Regions from separate parts of the Homo sapiens genome. Here all the other regions are linked to region 1. The links are contacts of gene promoters, found by promoter capture Hi-C in human tissues and cell types (Jung and others, 2019). All regions are on one chromosome and are shown on one strand. The core of a region is centred on a gene start or on the middle of the fragment in contact, and the rest is flanking DNA. Distances in the headings are between cores, read along the strand shown. Region 1 overlaps ZNF547 (zinc finger protein 547). Region 2 holds the start of ZNF530 (zinc finger protein 530). Region 3 holds the start of ZNF773 (zinc finger protein 773).

Region 1 (4,716 bases), core at 1-2,500:
GTAAGATCTTCCCATCGTTGCCCATTTCTCACGGTTTCCCTCTTCCTTCAGGGTCCCCTGGCGATGGCAGAAATGAACCCTGCACAGGTGAGTGGAGTGTTTTCTACCTTTCACCTACCAGTTATCTCATAGATGGTTTTGGCACCTCCATGTAAAGAAAAGTGGTGTCCAGAGACTCTCTTTCTGTCTTTCTCCCTCTCTTATGTCTGAAAAGTGAGTGATTCCACCAGTTCTAGTATCTTAAATTAGGTCTGGGATTTTTGTTTGATTGTTTTAAGTTTACTGTGACACCTTACCTGGATGGCCCTGGATTATGTGGAGTGGCTCCCATTTTTGACAGTTGACGTGGTAACATCTGTCAGAGTGTCATGGGCACAAGATTAAGAATGTTTCAGTGTTTAGAGGAGAGACTGAACTGGATTTTTAGGGAACTGCAAGTGTCTGTTATATCGGATAGGAATAGGGAGCAGAGTGGGAGGTGGCTAGAGACACACAAACATCAGGCCTGGAATGACAGCCTAGGTCCTGGGTCTCTAATCTAAGGGAGGTGGTAGATGGGGAAGATTTGAAGCAGAAGAGGGCAGTGATAGGACCCTAGCTTAAGGAACTTTCTTTGGCGTCTGAGTGGAGGACAGACTGTGGAGGTGAGGGTAATGGCAGGGAGATCTGAGAGGATGTTCCTGCAGCAGTCTAGGTGGATGTTGGTGGTGACTTGTCAAGAGTAGCGGTGGCTTCAGGATGTGTTTTGAACTGGAGCTGCCCACATTTTATGATGTAGAGAGTGAGGCAGCTGGGGGGGTGGGATAGAAGGGGAATCAGGAGTGGCCCCATGGTTTTTGTTTGGAAGCATAGATGCTCCATCAGCTAAGATGGGAGAAGTCAGCAGTATTAGGAATTTTCAGAGTGAGTGTGAGGAGTCAGTGTTTGTTCAAGCCACAGATGTCTCAGAGACTCCTGGTGGAGGAGTTCAGGTTGGAGACGTCCACACTATGGTGGCTGTCGTATGGACCAGGATGAAGCCATGGATTCAGTTTAGGTGACAGCATCTCTAGGTTATGGTGGCAGTGCTGTTCGAAGACAGAGAATTGGAATGGGGCATGAGAACTGGGTCTCTTACTGGGTAGCTGTGCAGTGGTGGAGGAGTCACTAGACAAATGAGGGAATGGAGTGTTTGTGGGGATGAGTGTATGTGAGATGGTGGGGTATAGGAGTGAGAAAGACTTCTGAAGGAGAGTGGACATGATGGGGTTGCTGAGGAGGGTAATAGGGTGAGGTCGGAGAGTTGCTAAGCATCAGTTGGAATGAGATGAGGATGGGAATTCTATTAGTCTGTTTTCATATTGCTACAAAGAACTACCTGAGACTGGGTACTTTATGAAGAAAAGAAGTTTAATTGACTCACAGTTCTTTTTTTTTTTTTTTTTTTTTTTTGAGATGTGGCCCAGGCTGGAGTGCAGTGGCACAATCTCGGCTCACTGCAATCTCTCCCTGCCAGGTTCAAGCGATTCTTCTGCCTCAGCCTCCTGAATAGCTGGGACGACAGACTCACCCCACTACGCCCAGCTAATTTTTGTATTTTTAGTAGAGATGGGCTTTCACCATGTTGGCCAGGATGGTCTTGATCTCCTGACCTCGTGATCCATCCTCCTCAGCCTCCCAAAGTGTTGGGATTACAGGCGTGAGCCACCGCACCCAGCCCATAGTTCTTCAGGCTTAACAGGAAGCATAACTCGGAGGCCTCAGGAAACTTACAATCCTGTGTCCATGAGGCAGGACACAGCTGAGAGTATGTGAAGTCCTCACATGGTTTGGGCACCTGACAGTGAAGTGAGAAACAGGGCCATGTAGGGAACCTTCAACCCAGGGCTTAGGGCTGCCCCCGGTGCTAGGGAACTTTGGTGTTCTGGGGCAGGACTGGGAGTGAATTGGATGCTGAGCGTATTTGCCGTGCACCACCTGGTTTCTGTGTGCAGAGTGGCCTGTTAGGAGGTGAAGGAAATGCCTGTGGTGTGGGCTGGGAGGTGTCTGTGGAATTGACTGGAGTGGAGGTGTGAGAGATGGGATTGGAGTGCTGTCCAAAGAGTGATGTGCAGGCAGGAGGAGTGTGAATGGAGGGCCTCAGGCCCTGGCCCTGGTAGCTCAAGGGAGGAGGATGAGTCTGAGTTTGGTTGTCTTGGGAGGCAAGATCTGGGTGACTCCATGGAAACTGGCTGGCAGGAGAGGATGGATCCCCCCACGGGAGGCCCACATTCCTTTTCTACCTTATCTTCCATCTGTTTCCTCTGTGTGCTGGACACGGTGGCCAATGTCAATATGGAGAGAAAAGTCACTCATGCCACCTGGATGTGGTTTCTCTTCCACATTGGGAGGGTGTAGAGATTGAGGAAGGAAAGGAGGTGTAGGGGAGAGGGATGAGTTCCTGGAGAGAGAAAAGTAGCAGTGATTGTACCCATTGGGGTTTTTTGTTTTTTTTTTTTTAGATGGAGTCTTGCTGTGTTGTCACCCAGGCTGGAGTGCAGTGGCATGATCTTGGCTCACTGCAACCTGCACCTCCTGGATTCAAGCAGTTCTGCCTCAATCTCCCAAGTAGCTAGGACTACAGGCATGTGCCGCCATGCCCACCTAATTTTTGTATTTTTAGTAGAGATGGGATTTCACTGTGTTGGCCAGGCTGGTCTTGAACTCCTGACCTCAGGTGATCTGCCCGCCTCAGCCTCCCAAAGTGCTGGGATTATAGGCATGAGCCACTGTGCCTGGCCCCCATGGAGTTTTAATTTATGGATGTGAGTGAGTGATGCCAGGGACAGGCCAATGACACTGAAAGAAGATATTTATTCCTTACGTTTCCCTAAGGAGGTTACATACCACATAACACAGGGCCACACGGTGAAACACCAGATTTGATCAGGAGGAAAATTGGAGTGAGTTTAGTTTAGTCCACAGATGCTGTTGGGGTTTCCAAGGGAAACAAGGCAGGGCTGGCTGTCAGGATAGTTTGGCTAGTTTTAGTAATTCCAGGACACCTGGGCTATTGGGACTGTCCCTAGTTGTGCAGTACCTGTCCCTGGGTTGATTTAGAGCATGGGAAATACTGACTTGGTTTGAGAAAGTTAGAGATGGAGATGGTTAAGAATATGTGCCCAGGATGGTAGGGGAGATGGAAACACATTTAGCTGTTAGTTTGTCCCTGTGTTTAATGGGTGGTAAATATAAGTAGAAAATAAATAGAGAACTTAAGTAAATACAGTTTGAAAAGCTGCTCATGTATTCATCTTTCCCAATTTGGCAGGGTCATGTGGTTTTTGAAGACGTGGCCATATATTTCTCCCAGGAGGAGTGGGGGCATCTCGATGAGGCTCAGAGATTGCTGTACCGTGATGTGATGCTGGAGAATTTGGCCCTTTTGTCCTCACTAGGTAAGGCCCTCACACTTGCCCAGTGTCCTGGGTTGGGCTGTGTTGTCTCCTTTTACCTGAAGGCAGCTCTGCGTTTCCCACAGTGAGACCATGGGTGCTGCTTCTTTTCCTTGTTTCCTGACATATGTTCCATGAGAGTCAGGACTGCAATATGTGCTGTGTGCTTCCTTTTTCCTGGCAGCCCCATCCTCTGCTGTTCTGAGGCTTGCAAGAAAGGGCTCAGGATCCAGAAATGTTGAAGGTGACATAGAGACCCACTGGCCCTGTGTTCTATTCAAATGCATGAGACCTCTGTGCTCTGTTGTTCCCTTGCTCTTGCCAATATTTCTTGGTCCCTTCTTGTTCCTGGAATTTCTGGCACTGACCTGATCACTAATTTGGTGAACCACTGGCTTGATTGTGTAGGATGTAGAAATCTTCTGTGAAGTTCTGGTGATTATCGAATGTGAGATATCATCAGGTGATCTCTCTGGGAATGTGCTGTCTTGTCTCTTTCTGTGTCTTTCCCCTAGGACTGGTCTCTTTCAGGTCTCACAGACTGTCACCTTAAGCAATGGGGAGGGCCCTGGTACCCAAGAGGGTGGATATTACTCCCTGAAGGGCTGTAGAGACTCAGAGGGACATGATCCTGGTTCCTGGGAGTTGGGAAAAGGTGTAATATCACAGCTGGGGTCATATTACTAGGAATCTGTCTGGTGACCCCTGTTGTTTAGTTGAAGACTGGTTGCCACAACTCACTCTTCTTTTCCTTCCCCCGTTGTCATTTTTACTCTGACTTCTAATCCCTGGCTTCCAGCCGTTACCTATTTTCTTCAACTGCTCCCTCTGCAGTGCCATCCACTGCATGACCTGTACTTAAGGTGAGGTCTGCATGTATTTGTCAGTAGTCCCTGAACACCATCTCCTCTGTCACAATCAGATCTCTCTGGGTTTAGACACAGCCTTCTACACACTGCTCACTAGTCACCAGCAGCCATGGCCTGTGGAAAGCCATTTGCAGAGAAGTGACTTGGAGACCCTCCTCCTCTCTGCACTGTACCCCTCTCTTGTGTTCTTACCCATCATCAGGGCTCTCCCATTATGGGTATTTGCCAGGTCCAACTCTGCACAGCAGGCCTTCTTCTCATTGGCCTTAGTGTTTGTATTACTTCATTCTCACTCTGCTATTAGGAAATACCCAAGACTGGGTAATTTCTAAAGGAAAGAGGTTAATTGACTCACAGGTCCCCATTGCTGGGGAGGCCTCAGGAAACTTACAGTCATGGCGGAAGGCAAAGGAGAACTAGGCATCTTCTTCACA
Region 2 (4,716 bases), core at 837-3,336, 230 kb after region 1:
TCTTCCTCAAAAAAAAAAAATTACCATTAGACACTCAAATATGCAGGCAAAATGAGTCCTTTGTGGAGTCACTCAGAAGGGCTCCCCACTTACCTTTCTATATGAAATCATGCTGGAGCCACACCTTCTCCCTTTCCTTTTCAGACAGGACTTAAATTCAGCAACTGAAGAGCTATCTGCTCTATGTGTCTTCAGGGTAAACATTTCCAGAGCCAAGCCAAATGTACTTATAGACTTATATATGACTGCACTAAAAAAAGCAAAGTAAGTCTATGTTCAGTTCAATTAATTATGTTCAATATTCTTTTTTTTTTTCTCTCTACTGAGATGGAGTCTCACTCTGTCACCAGGCAGGAGTGCAGTGGTGTGATCTCGGCTCACTGCAACCTCCACCTCCTGGGTTCAAGCGCTTCTCCTGCCTCAGCCTCCCAAGTAGCTGGGACTACAGGCGCACGCCACCACACCCAGCTAATTTTTGTATTTTTAGTAGAGACAGGGCTTCACCATGTTGGCCAGGCTGGTCTTGATCTCTTGACCTCATGAGCCACCTGCCTTGGCCTCCTAAAGTGCTGGGATTACAGGCATGAGCCACCGCGCTTGGCCTAGCCACAAGATTATTAATAGTTGTGACGTATAATGTTTTGTGTCGACTTGCCTGCATTAAGGGCTACCCAAATAGTTGGGAAAACCTTAGTACAGGATATGTCTGTGAGAATGTTTATGGAAGATATTAGCAGTTGAGTCTGTAGACAATGTAAAGGAGATCTGGCCTCATCAGTGTTAGGGGCCAACATCCAATGCTTTGAGAGCCAAGATAGAACAAAAAGGCAGAGAAAGAGCAAGTTACTCTCTTCTTGCCCTGGATCATCCACCTTCTGTTTTCCAACATTAAAGTTCTTGGATCTTGGGCCTTTGGACTCTGGAACATACAAGAATGACCCTCACCCAGTTCTCAGGCCTTCAGCCTCCAACTGGGAATTTCACCATAGGCTCCCTTGGTTTTCAGGCCTTCAGATGCAGACTGAATGATACCACCCACCTTCGTGTCTTACCAGGTTGCAAAAGGTATATCCTGGGACTTCTTAGCCTCCATAACTGGATGAGCCAAGTCCCATAATAAATCCCCTCTTGTACATCTATGTATCCTATTGGTTCTGTGTTTCTCTGGAGAATCCTGACTAATACAATAGGTTTCAGTAATTTTCATTTCACAACTGTTTTTCTAAGATGATCTCAACTCCCCATGCAAGCACTGTCCCTGCAGTAACAGTATCAATGATCAAAATTTCCCATCAAAGAGATGAAAGCTAGGTGTCCCAAACCTTTATTCTGGTATTCTGATGTCCCCTTTGCACAAGTGCTCTGACTGTGAACACTACAGACACTGTTCTACTTTAAAATGGCATATGCTAAGTGGCTCTTCTGTTTAGAAAGTTGCTACAATCCTAAAAGAAGCATATCTAAGAATATGGAGGAAGAAATATTATATGAATACAACACTGTTCCTTACAGGGCTAGACACACTCACCGATTACACAGGCAGGAGAGGCATTTTCTGTGAGACAAAATTCCTCTTTCGTCCTCCAGCTTCGGTGCGATCTAACGGATGTTTTATCATTCCTGTCATGGCGCTATGTAAACTCTATTTCCCTTATTCCTTACTGAGCATAATGAAACTCACAAAGCTGACTCTAACGTTCTACTTTACATAAATGTGTGGAGAAAGAAGGTAATGTTTACTAGGCTCTCGCCAAGGGTAGAGGCATTTTGTATCTGAATAACTCTGACTACCTAGGTGACTAGTTGTACACAATACCCTCCAAAAATCTCTGTATGGTACCTTAAAAAAGCAGCGAAGCTCCTCCCTTGTCCAAGGAGGCTGGAGACACCACCTCTCAGCCTTCCCCTCCACCTTTCTCCATAGCAACGGGGTCATTCCTCCCTGAGGTCCAGGAGAAGGGCGACCTCTGCCAGCCCAAGAAGCGGTGAGAACTACATTACCCAGAGGCCCGTGAGCCAGGTTCTTGGCGTGGAGCCAATGAGGCTCAGGGGAGGGACATTTCCGCTCTGTCCAACTTGTCGGAGCGGAACTTCCGGCGTCCTCCCTGTGGCGGGCACTTTGGCTTGTGTCAGTTCCATCCGCGGGTGCCGGATCTGGACCTAGGTGCTGACAGCGAGAAGGCGCGAGGAGAGTCGTTTTCTCAGCTGCACAGCCGGGGCCTGACGGTCGCCGGCGGTGGTGACAGCTTTGCTCTTGTCTCCGCCCGGATCGTCCACCGCTCCCGGCCCGCTCCGCCCAGAGTCCGATGGCGGCGGCACTGAGGGCCCCGACCCAGGTGAGCGCTGCGTCCTCCCGGCCTCCTCTGCCCTCCCCACCCGAAACTGAGGGACGCGTGAAGGGTTTTCTGCAGCCCGGACCGCACTGTCCGGCACAGTGAGGCGCTGGTGCTGGATCTCGTTTCTGGTAGTGTGGCAGGGAGCGGGAGAGCGACACGGTCAGGGGGCTGCGCGGGCAACAGCTTGGAGCTGCGCCTGAGCCGGGAGGCTGGGGAGACCCAGGCCGGCCTCACGCGTGCAGGTAGCAGAGGGTGGGGCAGCGCCGCGCTGCATTGGCCCCACTGAGTTTCACCAGCACACTGAGGGCCACAGCGCGTAGGACAGAAGAGGGGCACGGCCCCAGTCACGCTTCTAAAAGTTTCACAAAAGCTGTTCAGAGGAACGCGCTGGAAGGGCAGTGATGATAGCAGGCATGGAGGGACCTAGTCTTTTTACGAGGTCACAAAGCTGGTAAAAGTCAGCACCAAGGACTGACACCCAGATACAAAGCAGTCATCCCTGGACACCTGGCTCTGGTGTTCCACATTGGAACCAGAAGTCCATGGAGCCACACTTTGGTCACCTGCCTCTCAGAACATGTTTCCTCCCACAGATTGCCACTAGTACTTACAGGTCCGTAAGAAGCACTTGAAGACCCTACAAGGGTAAGTGGAGGAAATCCAGAAGCTCATTGATTCCAGCAATGGGATCTCTAGGATTGGGACTGTGGTGACCTGGGATTCTTTACTTACCGCTTTTCCAGGCCTTGAGCCTAGGGACTCTGAACAAAAATATGTCCAGGGTGAGTATTATATGAGGTGGTGCCTGTTGCTGGCAAATAATAGGATGAATGTGGAAGTTTGTCCCAGAGATAAGTACAGGTGTTTGGAGCTGCTTGGAGGTGAGGCTGAGCTGGTTAAGAGAACCTCAAGTCTCATTTCCTTCTCATGGGAACAGAGAGCAGAGGTACAGGAGTTAGAAACTAAATGGCTGTCTCAGATGTCTTTGTTCTGGAGATGATGGCAGCAATGAAGATTTGGAGCAGAAGAGGGAGGTGATCTTCCCCAGGCCTCATGAGGCTCCTGTGGCTGAGCACAGACAACAGACTGTGGGTTTAAGGGAGTTGGTAGCAATACCAAAGAGGAAAGAGGAGACTACTGCAATAGTCCAGGTGAGTGTAGATGATGTGGGCCAGAGTAGTGGCCACAGTGTGGCAGAAATGGTTGAATTTTGGATTGTAGGTCGGCTCTGATTTTCTGGTATTGGGACTGAGAGATAAGAAGGGGTGACTCAAGGCTTTTTGAGTTTAGTAGCTGGAAGCATAGAAGCTCCATCTACTGGGAGAGCCAAGTAGATAGTAGAATTGTTTTTCACTCAGGACATCAGGAATGTGTTTTGTCCATGTTAAAAATATGAGATGTTTTAGAGAATAAGTAAGTAGCTATATCAAGTGGCTAGGTGGACACACAGGTCTTGGACTCTGAGGAAGGGTGCAGGATAGAGACTTCTACAAAGAGTGGAGGATATTATTGAACTAGGATGGAGCCCTATGTCTGTTAGGCCATTTGCATTACTATAAAGAAATACCTAAGGCTGGGTAGTTTATAAAGAAACAAGGTTTATTACAGCTTATAGTTCTGCAGGCTGTACAGGAAGCTTAGCGCTAGTCTCCACTTCTGGTGAGGGCCTCAGGAAGCTTCCAATCATTGCAGAAGGCAAAAAGGGAGCCAGCAAGGCAGGAGGGAGGCACCAGTCTCTTTTTAGCAACCAGGTCTCATGTGAACTTATTACTGTTGGAAGGATACTATGCCATTCATGAGGGATCCACCTCCATGACCCAGATAACCTCCCACTAGGCCCCACTTCCAACATTGGGGATCACATTTCCAGGTGAGATTTGAAGGGGACAAATATCCAGGCTATATCAGTGTCTTACCTTGGGTTGATAATGAAATAACCTATATTGGTGGCTTAAACAACAAAAATTTGTTTCTCACAGTTCTGCAGGCTAGGAAATTCTACATCAGGGTGCCTCTAGATTCACTTATTTGTGATGGGCTGCTTCTTGACTTGCAGTGGCTGCCCTCTTGCTTTTTCCTCACATGGCCTTTCCTGGGAGGGAGTATGTAAAGAAAGCAAGGAATCTCTTTCTTTCTATTCTTACAAAAGCATTAATTCCATCATGAGGGCCCCACTCTTTTGACCTTATCTAAATCTAATTACCACCCAAAGATTCCATCTCCAAATACTATCACATTATATTAGGCTTCATTGTGTTAGTGCTTCAATGTAAGCATTTTGTGGGTGGGCGTGGGGCAGAAACATTAAGCCCATAACATCATAGATCCCATTTAGTAGTGGGATTCCTGGTCATGATGATAATATTAATAGCAGGCCAGG
Region 3 (4,716 bases), core at 1,087-3,586, 130 kb after region 1:
GAACCCAGAAATACACTCACACAACACTCTATTGTCAATCTCTTTTCAAGAAAGTTGCAAAAGTAGTAAAACAACTTCAGAAAACAGTGTAGCAGCTTTAAAGGTAGCATAAGCTTACCATATAGTTTAGGAATCTTACCTATTGGGATATCCCCAAGAGAACAAAAGCATATGTTCTAGAAATACTTACACTTGCATGCTCAGCAGTTTTATTTATAAAACCCAAACACCAGAATTTGTTTTTAAAACACACACACACAAACTAAAATTTCCGTGAACAGAAGAATGAATAATCAATTATGGTATATCTTAACATAAAATACCATTCAACAACATAAAAGAATAAACTATGAATACAAGTAAAAATATCATAGATAAATCTGAAAATCCCTGAGCCAAGTGGAAGAAGCCAGACACAAAAGTTGACATACAGTATGATTCCATTTATATGAAATGAAGAAGCTGCAAAACTAGAGTAAAAGAATGCAGATCACTGGTTATTGAGCCTGCGGTCTGAGGGGGAAGGTTCTGACTGAAAGAGTACAGGAAAACGTTATCAGGCAATGGTAATTTTCTCTATCATGACTGTGTTGGTGGTTTCATGACAGTACAGCTGACCCTTAAATAACACAGGTTTGAAATGCACAGGTCCAATTATATGTGAATGTTTTTCAATAAATATACTGGAAAAAATTTTTGAATATTTGAGACAATTTCAAAAAACCAGAATTCATTGAAATAGGTATGCCAAGAATGCATAACACAAAATATATGTAGGTTCTATTTTATCATTACAAAACCAGAGCGATATTTTCTTTTCTTTTTTTTTGTTTTTGAGACGGATTCTCTCCCTGTCGCCCAGGCTGGAGTGCAGTGGCATGAACTCCACTCACTGCAAGCTCCACCTCCCGGGTTCATGCCATTCTCCCGTCTCAGCCTCCCGAGTAGCTGGGACTACAGGCACCTGCTACCACACCCGGCTAATTTTTTGTATTTTTTAGTACAGACGGGGTTTCACCGTGTTAGCCAGGATAGTCTCGATCTCCTGACCTTGTGATCCACCCGCCTTGGCCTCCCAAAGTGCTGGGATTACAGGCGTAAGCCACCACCTCCCTACTCTTTCTACCCAATAAATATGAAGGTCTGTGGAAGCTCAGGGCCCTTCCTCACTAGAAGCAAGAAGCCCCCTGACCCCTTCTTTAAAACAGATTTATTTTGCCTTTGTTTTCATTTCTGCATTCGTTCCCCTTCGTTCAGTCCCATAGTAACTGTGACAGGAATATGGAGCAGAAATGGATGAAGGGGAGAAATTGAGGGGGAGTTGGCTTATGGGTTTGCTGCCTGTTGTTGTGCCTTTACACCAATGTTGGGTCCTTGAGGAAGGAAAGAACACAAATGAGAATGGGGTGAAAGAGGAACGTAAATCCTTGGGCTCCCCTACTCTCTCATCACCTACATCCAGAATTCAGAGCCTTTTCTTATTATCATACATCAGGCATTAATATTGGGTGTCCCCTTGCCAAAGGAAATTTAGGAAGGTATACGTGGCTTTGCCCAGTGAAACCTCTTTATGGTGGCCCTGAAGATCCTCTTCAAGTCCTTCAAAAGAAGGAAAGATTGGAGTATCAGCTGCAGGAAACTGAAATCCAGGCCCATCTCCAATTACAACAGGTTCCAGATGAGTCCGAGAGTTCTCGACACTCATTTCTCCTCCATCTCCTACTCCATCATCTCCATCTCCATCTTCTCCATCATCTCCATCTTCATCATCATCTCCATCTCCATCATCTCCATGTCCATCATCATCTCTATCTCCATCATCTCCATCTCCATCATCTCCATCTCCATCATCATCTCTATCTCCATCATCATCTCTATCTCCATCATCTCCATCTCCATCATCTCCATCATCTCCATCTCCATCTCCTACTCCATCATCTCCATCTCCATCTTCTCCATCATCTCCATCTTCTCCATCATCTCCATCTTCTCCATCATCTCCATCTTCATCATCTCCATTTCCATCATCTCCATCTCCATCATCATCTCTATCTCCATCATCTCCATCTCCATCATCTCCATCATCTCCATCTCCATCTCCATCTCCATCATCTACCGTCTCCAATCTCCATCTCCGAAGTTATGCCCACTTCCTCGAAGTTTGGAGCCACGCGAACTACACTGCCCAGAAGGCGCCGCGCCGTGAGCCGCGATGCTTGGCCAATGAAAAGAGGTCTACCCGAGAGTGCGACGCGCAATGGGCGGGACTTCCGGCGTCTCCCCTCGGCGGTTGCTTTCGCTGCCCTCAAGAGAACTCAGCTTGCCGGAAGCTGGTTGTTCGCTGCGGCGACCAGCTCCGGAAAGCGCGGTGGGGACGCGCTGTGTTCTCGCAGCTCAGAGGCGGGTCTGAGGCTCGGTGGCGGCGCCCAGGGTGGCCCGGGCCCTTTCCTCGGTCGTTGTCTCACCGCCACAGGCTCCGATGGCGGCGGCCACGCTGAGGGACCCCGCTCAGGTGAGCGCCGCGTCCTCCCGGCCTCCCCCGAATCCTAAAGCCCTGTGAGGGCCGCCTGCTCAGGTCCCCGGGTGCAGAACTGTGGGGCGTTCGTGGGCGGCGTCCCGTTTCTGACACGCAGTGTGATGGGGTGGCAATGGAGGGCAAGGGGCCCGGCTCGCAAAGATGTGAGGCGCATTCAGCGAGTCCCGAACCTGAGGCCTCCTGGTGTCTGTAGTGGGCAGCTTGGGAAGGGACGAGGCGCGTGTCGAGCGACAGCCCGAGCAGCTGCGCTTTCATCCTGAGGGGGCCACAGTGGCCGCGGAGGGCTGGAGACAGAAGAGTGACAAGATCTGTTTCTCAAAGTTTGCCAAAGGCCCTTCAAGTCAAAACAGACTGGGGTGGGGGTGAGGCGGGTGAAGACAGACCTGTGAGTAGGTAAATTCAGTAGACTAGTGGAGAGTCTACTGGGACTGGGCCACAGAGGAGGGGAAGTGATCAGATCTTGGATGGATTTCAAAAACTGAACAGACGGGAATTCCTGTTGCATCAGATGTGACTGTGAAAGAAAGTAGGGAATGAAGAGCCATTCTGGATTTTTATTTGTATTTTTGTTTGTTCCTGAATATCAGGAAGGATGGAGATGGGTAAGGCTGTGCAGGGAATAGGTTTTGGGCATGGTGATCCTGAGATGTCCCAGAGTGGAGGTGTCATGTCCACATGAGCAGCTGGAAGGCCTGGGGCTCGTATTTAGGAGGGAGAATCTTAAAGTTTTCTTTCAGATGGTCCCTGAGGTGAGGGAAGGGAGAGATGGGCCTGTAGGATGGGGCAGCCTCTACAGCCTGGAGTTTCGTGGTCCGAAGTGATTTTGTCTGGTGCCTGCAGGAATGGAGGGTTATAGAGTATGAACACCCAGGACTGGATGGAGACCGCAGTGTTGGGTAGTATATAGGTTTGCCACTCCAGGCTTAGTAGTTCCTCATGTCCAGTCCATATGGAGAAAAGGAAAGGTCAGCCAGGCTGGTGGAGCAGCACCTTTGGTGCCTAAGTTTCCCTAGCTATCAGCACAGGTGGGATGATCAACTGCTCCAGTAGAAGGGAGGGCTCTCAGCAGGATGGTCTTCAGGGGAGTATATAGCAGGCAGCCAGATTGCCAAAAGGAAACCCACATTGTCTTTCTTTTTCTTTCTTTTTTTTTTTTTTTTGAGACAGAATTCTGCTCTTGTGATCTGCCCACCTCGGCCTCCCAAAGTGTTGGGATTACAGGCTTGAGCCACTGCACCCAGGCAGAAACCCACATTTTGAAAACCTACCAGTTTATTTGCACTGAAAATGTTGACAGAAGCATTAATTATGTGTACAGTAAGAGTTGATATTTAGTCCTAGACACATAAGAATGAGTTTGATACAAACAATAGTCCTATTGAGTGAATACCATTATTGCCATGTTGCAGATGGCAATACCAAGGCACAGGGAAGTTGAGCATTTTTCCAAGGGCACACAACAGGTAAGAGGCATCACTAAGAACCAAAGCCCAGATTGCAGATAGTCAGGCACACCTGACTCCAGGCTAGACGAGGGGGCTTGGATGATCCTTTGGTAACATCACTGTCTGGTTCTCATGGTCTTGATTTTCCATAGGTTCTTGTGACTTCAGAGTTAGTTATAGACCATGAGAAGGTAAGTGGAGGATGTCTCAGGCCCTCACCCTCCTCAACTCCTACCTACATGGTCTTCAGAATTATGGTGTCTTGGGACTCCTTGCTGGCTATTCTCCCTCCCCTTCCATTTGAGTTCCCTGCAAAATGGTCATACAGTCAGGGTCCTGAGTCCAGACTACATATTATTATTTATTTATTTATTTTTGAGACGGAATTTAGCTCTTGTTGCCCAGGCTGGAGTGCAATGGTACAATCTCGGCTCACCGCAACCTCCACCTCCCAGGTTCAAGCGATTCTCCTGTCTGAGCTTCCCAAGTAGCTGGGATTACAGGCACGTGCCGTCACGCCCGGCTAATTTTGTATCTTTAGTAGAGACGGGGTTTCTCCATGTTGGTCAAGCAGGTCTCAAACTCCCAATCTCAGGTGATCCGCCCACCTCTGCCTCCCAAAGTGCTGGGATTATAGACATGAGCCATCACGCCTGGCCCAGATTATATGTTATATGGAGAGGTTCTCATTTCTGGCAACCAATGACAGGAGATTTAGAAGGCATAGTGATCAAC

Evidence for each region. The method cuts DNA at HindIII sites, captures the fragments that hold promoters and counts their contacts. A contact is called where the count stands out against the background at its distance.
Region 2: the fragment with the promoter of ZNF530 here is called in contact with a fragment that was not itself captured in region 1 in 7 of the 25 tissues and cell types used here (bladder, dorsolateral prefrontal cortex, heart left ventricle and 4 more).
Region 3: a contact is called between the fragment with the promoter of ZNF773 here and a fragment that was not itself captured in region 1, in 2 of the 25 tissues and cell types used here (dorsolateral prefrontal cortex and liver).

What each region holds. Positions count from the first base shown.
Region 1 is chr19:57,368,493-57,373,208 of GRCh38, forward strand. ZNF547 (zinc finger protein 547) reads left to right here. Exons shown (of 4, transcript NM_173631.4): 2 at 52-87; 3 at 3,290-3,416. The coding sequence starts at 64. Among named protein-coding and RNA genes, the nearest start is that of ZNF547, 7.3 kb to the left of the region's middle. The HindIII fragment of the contact is 8,803 bases long and covers 1-4,716 here.
Region 2 is chr19:57,597,799-57,602,514 of GRCh38, forward strand. It overlaps ZNF530 (zinc finger protein 530), which reads left to right and starts at 2,087. Exons shown (of 4, transcript NM_001321981.2): 1 at 2,087-2,336; 2 at 2,930-2,981. RefSeq lists enhancers at 2,135-2,344, 2,435-2,554. The HindIII fragment of the contact is 9,316 bases long and covers 1-4,716 here.
Region 3 is chr19:57,497,602-57,502,317 of GRCh38, forward strand. ZNF773 (zinc finger protein 773) reads left to right here and starts at 2,337. Exons shown (of 4, transcript NM_198542.3): 1 at 2,337-2,512. The coding sequence starts at 2,480. The HindIII fragment of the contact is 9,164 bases long and covers 1-4,716 here.